Regions from separate parts of the Homo sapiens genome. Here region 2 is linked to region 1. The links are contacts of gene promoters, found by promoter capture Hi-C in human tissues and cell types (Jung and others, 2019). All regions are on one chromosome and are shown on one strand. Each heading gives the region's core, a stretch centred on a gene start or on the middle of the fragment in contact. The rest is flanking DNA. Distances are from core to core; before and after follow the strand shown. Region 1 holds the start of ZNF443 (zinc finger protein 443). Region 2 has its middle 49 kb from the start of ZNF136.

Evidence for each region. The method cuts DNA at HindIII sites, captures the fragments that hold promoters and counts their contacts. A contact is called where the count stands out against the background at its distance.
Region 2: a fragment that was not itself captured here is called in contact with the fragment with the promoter of ZNF443 in region 1 in 1 of the 25 tissues and cell types used here (adrenal gland).

Annotation. Positions count from the first base shown.
Region 1 is chr19:12,439,106-12,444,240 of GRCh38, reverse strand. It overlaps ZNF443 (zinc finger protein 443), which reads left to right and starts at 3,220. Exons shown (of 4, transcript NM_005815.5): 1 at 3,220-3,329. The coding sequence starts at 3,327. RefSeq lists an enhancer at 2,772-3,041 and a silencer at 3,452-3,541. The HindIII fragment of the contact is 16,773 bases long and covers 1-5,135 here.
Region 2 is chr19:12,209,478-12,214,394 of GRCh38, reverse strand. It overlaps the pseudogene LOC100289333. Among named protein-coding and RNA genes, the nearest start is that of ZNF136, 49 kb to the right of the region's middle. The HindIII fragment of the contact is 4,844 bases long and covers 756-4,917 here.

The DNA.
Region 1 (5,135 bases), core at 1,971-4,470:
AAAAAAAAAAAAAGAGAGAGAGAGAGATAGACACCAATACACTAATAGCTGGAGATTTTAACACCCCATATTCAGAACTGGACAGATCTTCCAGACAGTAAATCAACAAAGATTATTTCAATATATACTGAAAAATTGGACAAAAGAAAGATTAAATGGGATTTAATCTACACTATAGATCAAATGGACCTAATAGATATTTACAGCACATTTTATCCAACAGCTACAGAATACACATACTTTTCCTGAGCACAGGAATCATTCTCAAGGATAGACCATATGTTAGGTCAAAAAACATGTCTTAAAACGCTCCGAAAAATTGAAATAATATAAATTGTGTCACAGAATAAGTGGAATAAACTAGAAACCAATGACAAGAGGAATTCTGGAAACCATACAAACATATGGAAATTAAACAATACGCTCCTGAATGACGAGTGGGTCAATGAAGAAATTAAGAAGAAAATTGAAAAGTTTCTTCAAACAAATGATAATGAAAATGCAACATACCAAAACCTATGGAATACAGCAAAAGCAGTACTAAGAGGGAAGTTTATAGATATAAGCACCTACATCAAAAAAGAAGAAGACCTTCAGGCTGGGTGCAGTGGCTCCCATCTGTAATCCCAGCACTTTAGGAGGCCAAAGGGAGTGGATCACCTGAGGTTAGGAGTTCGAGACCAGCCTGGCCAACATGGTGAAACCCTGTATCTACTAAAAATACAAAAAATGACATGGTGGTCGGTGCCTGTAATCCCAGCTACTTGGGAGGCTGAGGCAGGAGAACTGCTTGAACCCAGAAGGCAGAGGTGGCAGTGAGCTGAGATTGCGCCATTGCACTCCAGCCTAGGCTGCAAGAGTGAAGTGAAACTCATCTCAAAAAAAAAAAAAGAAGAAGAAGAAAACCTTCAAATAAACAACCTAAGAATGCATCTTAAAGAATTAGAAAAGCAAGAGCAAACCAAACCCAAAATCAGTAGAAGAAAAGAAATAATAAAAATCAGTAGAAATAAATGAATTTGAAATGAAGAAACAATAGAAAAGAACAATGAAACAAAAAGTTGGTTTTTTGAAAAGACAAACAAAATTGACAAACCTTGAGGTAGACTAAGAAAAAACCAGGCCCAAATAAATACAATTAGAGGTGAAAAAGGAGACATTACAGTTGATACTGCAGAAATTCAAAGGATCATTAATGCAACTAAGAACAACTATATGCCAATAAACTGGAAAACCTAGAAGAAACTGATAAATTCCTAGGCAGATAGAACATAGCAACATTGAACCATGAAGAAATAAAAAACCTGAACAGACCAATAACAAATAATGAGATCAAAGCCATAATAAAAAGTCTCCTAGCAAAGAAAACCCCAGAACCCAGTGGCTCCACTGCTGAATTCTACCAACATTTAAAAAAGAACTAATACCAATCTTACTCAAACTATTCCAAAAAACAGAGGAGAAGGCAATACTTCCAAATTTATTTTACAAAGCCAATATTACTTTGACACCAAAACCAGACAAAGACATGTCAGAAAAAGAAAACTATAGGCCAGTGTCACTGATGAATATTGATGCAAAAATCCTCAACTCAATACTAGCAAACTGAATTTAACAATACACCAAAAAGATCATTCATCATGACCAAGTGGGCTTTATCCCTGGGATGCAAGGATGGTTCAATATATGCAAATCAATCAATGTGATGTATCATTTCAACAGAATAAAGGGCAAACACCATATAATCATTTCAATGTGCACTGAAAAAGCTTTTGATAATATTTAACATCCCTTCATGATAAAAACCCTAAAAAAAAGTGGGTAAAGAAGGAGCATACCTTAACATAATAAAAGCTATATATGGCAGACCCACAGCTAGCATGATAATGAATGGGGAAAAACTGAAAGCCCTTCCTGTAAGATCTGGAACACAATAAGAATGCCCACTTTTACCACTGTTGTTCAACACAGTACTTGAAGTCCCAGCTAGAGCAATAAGACAAAAAAAAAAAAAAGAAAAAAAAAGAAATAAAGGGCATCCATATTGGGAAGGAAGAAGTCAAATTATCCTTGTTTGCATATAATATGATCTTATATCTGGAAATACCTAAAGACTCCACCAAAAAAGTATTAGAACTGAGAAATAAATTCAGTAAAGTTGCAGTATACAATATCAACACACAAAAATCAATAACATTTTTATATGCCAACAGTGAACAATCTGAAGCTACTTGAGAGGCTGAGGTGGGAGGATTGCTTGAGCTTAGGAGGTAGAGGTTGCAGTGAGCCATGATGGCCCCACTGCACTCCAGCCTAGGTAACAGAGCAAGACCCCATCTCAAACAACCAAAAATGTGTAGAAGGATGGTTACCAGAGGCTGCGAAAAGTAGTAGCGAGGAGTAGTTATGGGGGAAGTGGGGATGGTTAATAGGTATAAAAAATAGTTACAAAGAATGAATAAGACCTAGTATTTGCTAGCACAACAGAGTGACTATAGTAAAAAATAATTTAATTGTACATTGAAAAATCTTGAAAAATTTCATTGAAAAAGAGCATAATTGGAGCCAGGCGCAGTTGCTCACGCCTCTAATCCCAGAACTTTGGGAGGCCAAGGTAGGCGGATCACGAGGTCACGAGTTTGAGACCAGCCTGGCCAACATGGTGAAACCCAGCCTCTACTGAAAAATACAAAAATTAGCCGGGTGGTGGCGCGTGCCTGTAATCCTAGCTACTCGGGAGGCTGAGGCAGGAGAATTGCTTGAACCCACCCAGGAGGCGAAGGTTGCAGTGAGCCTCGCACCATTGCACTCTAGCCTGGGCGACAGAGCAAGACTCCCTCTCGAGGAAAAAAAAAAAAAAAGATATAATTAGTTTGTCAGTCCGTGTCCAGGAGGAAGAAGCAGGAGGTCCTATTGAGTACGGGCAGGAAATTCCGCTTAAGTGCAAATATAACCCGGGAGGATTCAGATCAAAGAGCAGGGAGGAAGCCCCCCCTGCCAAGGGCTGTGTCAGGAACTTGCTCATCCGGCTCCACTCAGCTGTGCAAGATCGCTTCTTCTGTCAATCAGCCCTCAGGGGGCGGGACCTGACGCCCTATCCAATCAGGGGCGTGGGGCGGGTTCGTGGGAACTGTCAATCAGGCACTGCCCAGAGAAGTGTGTGTGGTTGAAAAAGCCCGCGGCGTCTGCTCCACCCACCTGCGCTCGGCTCTGGGTTCTGTAGCTGAGAGACGACCTGGAAGTTCTGAGGCAGCCTTTGTCTGGCTGGAACACGCATTGGCAGCGGGAGCTGTCGGTAGGACCTGGGACACCGCGGAAGTCGGGAAATGGTGCGTGTGCTGGGCCGGCGTCCCGAGGCGGGGGAGGGGTTAGGTGGAACCGGCCGTAATCGGCTGTGGCTGGACCCGGGCCTCCCCAAGGGCGACTTCGGGATCTACGGACCCGGGTCCCCCTGGCGTAGGTCGGCCCTCGGCCGCAGGGTGGGGCTGGGCATGCAGCCGGGACCCCGGGCGTCCTGTCCCGTTCCTGCGCGGCGACTGCGGCCCCGGCGCCCTCTCTGGGCAGCTCCGAGCCCGCAGCCCCGGGTCTCCCCAGATTGTGCGGCTGTAACCAACACAGGTTCGCGGCCCGACTCACTGCACCGAGACGCCGAGGGCTGCAGCAGAAACGGTTTAACAGGAGGAGAGGGGAGGACACCCCAGATCCGCCTCCCTGAGGGATTTGGGGTCTGGACGGGGGCGGCTGGGTGTAGCGTCCTTGGTTGGTGGGGAAGTGAGGGGTGAATCCTGGGACAGGAGGTGAAGAAACCGCATTCTGCTGAGAGGGCTCCCTCGTGGGGTCTTCAACCTGGTTGGCGCCAGCCTTTCTGCTGGGATTCAGGATCTGAGAACTCCGGCGACTCTTGAGCAGCACTCGGAGATCTTATCCCCAGGCACAATGGGGAAGCCGGCGGTCAGCGTCTGCTGTGACCTGACTCTCAGGGAGGCGGCCCCTTGAGGCAGCGGGGCTGAGGGCACCTGTTTAATATCTAACTGCAATCTCGCCTCCAGCCTGGCTCGCAGTTCCTGTGAACCCGGTGAGGAGGCTGCACGGTGACGACGAGTCACCAGGTGGAATCCAGACTCGTGTGTGGGGTTTGTGTGTGGGAGGAGCTGTGGTTTCCGTGGTCCTCAGTCCTTTCTTCCTTTCCAAGGGCGACCGTTTCCCCTCTGAGTCTTCCAAAGACGTGGGCAGCAGGGTCTCAAATCCACCACTGTGTTCTCTCATCCTGACTCTTCCTAGGGCTGGCAGCAAATCTCTTGGTTTCCAGAGACTTCCCCAGGCTAACCTTCTGTCCTTAATTCACAGCAACAGTATGAACTGTTTGGCCCCAGGCGATATTTCACTAGTTTGTCATCTTGTTTTCAGCTAGCAATGTATGGCTTTTTCTTGAAAGAATTGTTTTGGGTTCCTGAACACGGTGGGTCATTCCTGTAATTCCAGCACCTTGGGAGGCTAAGGCAGAGGTATTGCTTGATCCCAGTAGTTCCAGACCAGCCTGGGCAACATGGCAAGACTTTGTCTCTAGTGTAAATGATAATAATAAAATTAGCTGGGCTTGGTAGCTGGCACCTGTAGTCGCAGCTACTCCTGAGGCTGAGGTGGGATGATGGCTGGAGCCCAGGAGTTTGAAGTTGCAGTGAGCTATGATCGTGCCTCTGCATCCCAGCCTAGGCAACAGAGGCCGACCCTGTCTCAAAAAAAATGGATGTCCACAGCTGCCAAGTCTCTTGGAGGGTCTAGTGAATATCATCCCCTGGGTCACTCCTCCCAGGGGACAGCCTGAGATGGAAGGTGTGGCCCCCTGGGGAGCAACTGGATCCACTGGGATGGGAGGAATCTTCTGGTATATAATTCCTGTAAAAAGCTAACTCCTGGGACACTCACCTTTTCTTCCCAACCCTAGTTTCCATTCCTTGGAGACACATGACTGAACAGCCAATTTCATGGTCATATTCCATAGGAAAAAAAACGGAAATGATTTTTGCCTTCTGGACTCTCTCAGACTTAAAAGGTAGAAAGTTATATCTAAGGACTGGAGAACCTGCCCTTTGAGGTAGTGCAAGATCCTGAAAAGCACACAAGGCAGTGTCTCC
Region 2 (4,917 bases), core at 1,928-4,427, 230 kb after region 1:
ATTGAAGAGGACACCAAAAAATGGAAAGATATTCCATGTTCATGGATTACACGAATCAATAGTGTTAAAATGTCCACACTACCTAAAGCAATCTACAGATTCAATGCAATCCCTCTCAAAATACCAAGGACATTCTTCACAGAAATAGAAAAAAAAAACCCTAAAATTTATATGGCACCATAAAAGACACAGAATAGCCAAAACTATCCTAAACCAAAAGAACAAAACTGGAAGAATCACATTACCTGACTTCAAATTACACTACAGAGCTATAGTAACCACAACAGCATGGTACTGGCATGAAAGGAGACACATAGACCAATGGAACAGAAGAGAACCCAACAATAAATCAATACACCCACAGTGAACTCATTTTTGACAAAGGTGCCAAGAACATACACTGGGGAAAGGCAGTCTCTTCAACAAATGGTGCTGGGAAAACTGGATATCCATGTACAGAAGAATGAAGCTAGATCCCTACCTCTCACCATATACAAAAATTGAAATGGATTAAAGACTTAGATATAAGACCTCAAACTATAAAACTACTACAAGAAAACACTGGGCAAAATCTCCAGGACACTGGTCTACGCAAAGATTTATTGGGCATACCCCACAAGCACAGGCAACCAAAGCAAAAATGGACAAATGGTATCACATCAAGTTACAAAAGTTTCTGCATAGCAAAAGATACAATCAATAAAGTGAACATACAACCCACCGAGTGGGAGAAAATATTTATTTGCAAACTACCTCTCTGACAAGGGGTTAATAACCACAATATATACAGAGCCCAAACAACTCTATAGGAAGAAAATCTAATAATCTGGTCAAAAAATAGGCAAAGGATTTGAATAGACATTTCTCAAAAGAAGACATACAAATGGCAAACAGGCATATGAAAAGCAACATAGCAAGACCCTGTGTCTACAAAATATACAAAAATCAGCCAGGTGTGGTGGCATGCACCTGTAGTCCCAGCTACTTGGGAAGCTGAGGTGGGAGGATTGCTTGAGCCCAGGAGTTTGGAGACTACAGTGAGTTATGATCATGCCACTGCACTCCAGCCTGGGCAACAGAGCAAGACTACATCTGTATTTTTTAAAAACTTCTAAACCATGATCAAGTGAGATTTATCTCCAGAATGCAAACAGTGCATCCTATGAAAATCGGTCAATATAATATACCACATTAGCCGAATGACGGAAAAATCACAGTAATCTCAATTGATACACAAAAGGCATCTGACAAAATTCAAGACCCGTTGATGATAAACAACAAACTAGGAATGGGAGGAAACTAGGTCAATGTAATAGGCCATATATGAAGAATCTACAAGACTATCATACTTAATGGTGAAATATAAACATGGTGATCTTTTCCCCTAAGATCAGAAACAAGATAGGATAACTGCTTTCACCACTTCCATTCAATATAGTACTGGAAGAGCTAGTCAGAGTAATTAGGTAAGAAAAAGAAAAGGCATCCAGTTGGGCGCAGTGGTTCACGCCTGTAATCCTAGCACTTTAGGAGGCTGAGGCGGGTGGATCACCTGAGGCCAGGAGTTCAAGATCAGCCTGTCCAACATGATGAAAACCCGTCTCTACTAAAATACAAAAATTACCTGGGCATGATGGCGGGTGCCTGTAATCCCAGGTACTCGGGAGGCTGAGACGGGAGAATTGCTTGAACCCGGGAGACGGTGGTTGCAGTGAGCCAAGACTGCACCACTGCACTCCAGCCTGGGTGGCTCAGTGAGACTCTGTCTCAGAAAAAAAAAAAAAAGAAAAACAAAAGGCATCCAAATGGGCAAGGAAGAAATAAAATTATGTTGGCAGATGACATAATCCTATGTGTAGAAAATCCTAAAGATTACATACACATATATGTACACAAAAACTGAACTCATAAATGAATTCAGCAAAGTTGCAGGGTACAAAATTAACATTTAAAATTACATTTTTTTTTTGAGACGGAGTCTCGCTCTGTTGCCCAGGCTGGAGTGCAATGGTGCGATCTTGGCTCACTGCAACCTCCACCTCCCAGGTTCAAGCGATTCTCCTGCCTCAGCCTCCTGAGTAGCTGGGATTATAGCTGCCCACCACCAGGCCCGGATAATTTTTATATTTTTTAGTACAGACGGGGTTTCACCATGTTGGTCAGGCTGGTCTCAAACCCCTGACCTCATGATCCACCCGCCTCAGCCTCCCAAAGTGCTGGAATTACAGGTGTGAGCTACTGCACCCAGCCTAAAATTACATTTCAATACACTAACAGTTAATAATCTGAAAAGGAAATTAAGAAAACAATTACATTAGTAATAACATCAAAAAGAATAAAACAGGCCAAGCACAGTGGCTCACACCTGCAAAATCAGCACTTTGGAAGGCCCAAGGTGGGAGGATCACTTGAACCCAGAAGTTCAAGACAAGCCTGAGCAACAAAGTGAGACCTCATACTACAAAAAAAAAAAAAAAAAAAATTGGCTGGACGTGCTGGCCTGTGCCTGTACTCCCAGCTACTGGGAGGCTGAGATGGGAGGACCACTTAAGCCCAGGAGGTTGAGACTGCAGTGAGCCATGATTTCACCACTGCACTACAGTGCAGTGACAGAATGAGACCCTGTCTCAAAACAAAAACAAAAACAAAAAAACAGCTAGCTATAGTGACACAGACATGCAGTCCTAGCTACTGAAGATCCTAAGATGGGAGAACAGCTTGAGCCCAGGAGTTTGAGACTAACCTGGACAACGCAGCAAAACGCCATGACAAAAAATTAACCAAAAAAGCAAAAGACTTGTATACTGAAAACTATAAAACGTTACTGAAAGAAATTAAAGCTATAAATAAATGGAAAGACATTCTGTGTTCATAATTTAAAAGACTTAATTTTGTTAAGGTGTCAATATATTACTGCAAATGCTCTACAAATTCAAAGCAATCATTATCAAAAGGCCCATGACATTTTTTTCTGGAAACAGAAACACTCATCCTAAAATTCACAGGGAATCTCAAAGGACCCCAAATAGCCAAAACAATCTTGAAAAAGAACAACAGGCTGGACATGGTGACTCACGCCTGTAATCCCTGGACTTTGGGAAGCCAAGGTGGGTGGATCACCTGAGGTCAGGAGTTCGAGACCAGCCTGGCCAACATGATGAAACCTCGTCTCTACTAAAAACACAAAAAATTAGTTGGGTGTGGTGGCATATGCCTGTAATCCCAGCTACTCAGGAGGCTGAGGCAGGAGAATCGATTGAACCTGGGAGGCGGAGGTTGCAGTGACCCGAGATCACACCACTGCACTCCAGCCTGTGCAACAAGAGCAAAACTCCGTCTCAAAAAAAAAAAGAAAAACAACAACAAAGCTGGAAGCCTCACTCTTCCTAGTTTCAAAACTTACTCTAAGTTTTGGCTGGGCACGGAGGCTCATGCCTGTAATCCTAGCACTTTGGGAGGCTGAGGCAGGCAGATCACCTGAGGTCGGGAGTTCGAGACCAGCCTTACCAACAAGGAGAAACCCCATCTCTACTAAAAATACAAAAAAATAAGCCGGGCATGGTGGCCCATGCTTGTAATCCCAGCTACTCGGGAGGCTGAGGCAGGAAAATCGCTTGAACCAGGGAGGCGGAGGTTGCAGTGAGCCGAGATCGAGCCATTGCACACACACAAAATTAGCTGGGTGTGGTGGCACATGCCTGTAATCCCAGCTACTCAGGAGGCTAAGGCAGGAGAATAGATTGAACTTGGGAGGCAGAGGTTGCAGTGACCCGAGATCACACCACTGCAGTCCAGGCTGTGTAACAAGAGCAAAACTCTGTCTCAAAAAAAAAAAAAAAAAAAAAAGAAAAGAAAAGAAAAAGAGAACAACAAAGCTGGAAGCCTCACTCTTCCTAGTTTCAAAACTTACTCTAAGTTTCAGTAATCAAAATAGTGTGGTGTTGACATGACATAAAGGCAGATATATAGAGCAATGGAGGCCGGGTGTGGTGGCTCACGCCTGTAATCCCATCACTTTGGGAGGCCAAGGTGGGCAGATCATTAGGTCAGGAGTTCAAGACCAGCCTGGCCAACATAGTGAAACCCCGTCTCTATTAAAACTGCAAAAAAATTAGCCGGGCGTGGTGGCGGGCACCTGTAATCTCAGGCTGAGGCAAGGAGAATCGCTTGAACCTGGGAGGCGGAGGTTGCAGTGAGCCAAGATCGCGCCACTGCGCTCCAGCCTGGGTGACAGTGCGAGACTCCGTCTCAAGAAAGAAAGACAAAAAAAAAAAAACAGAGCAAAGGAATAGAATAGAGACTTCAGAGAGATACCCTTAATTTAAATCAGACTTAAGCCCACAGTCCTGAAACCCTCTAAAGCAACCACTGCCATGAGGGAGGCCCATAACCATGATGACACTGACTTGAGGCTCTCTAGAGAATGAAGGATATAAATATAAGTAGGGTACACAGAACACCCCTCTCCCTCACCCTGCAATCACCAAAAGAAAAAAGAAAAAAATTGAGACAAAGGTCCATAATTTGATCAAATTAGAAATCCAAAGTTTATTAAAATAACAGCAAAAAAATAAATGGGTGCTGACTGGGTTTCACACCTCTACAAAACAGGCTCCGAATTAACTTCAACATCCGTTGAAATGCATCAGTTGGCAAATTTCCATGTCCTTAATCAATACTGGGGCTTAAATTACAGTTTTACCTTAAGATACCATTGAATTTAAACATGGCACCCCCTCCCCCAGTATAACCTTATAGCAAATTCCTGAATAACAAACAGGTATGCCTCAACTTGCCTTTATTGGATTTCTTTCTAGTGAGAATTTTCACATGACTTTGACAGTATTTGTTAAAACTGAAAAACTTCCTGTATTTCTCACATTTGTAAGCTTTATATCTAGCACATTCTTATTGCAT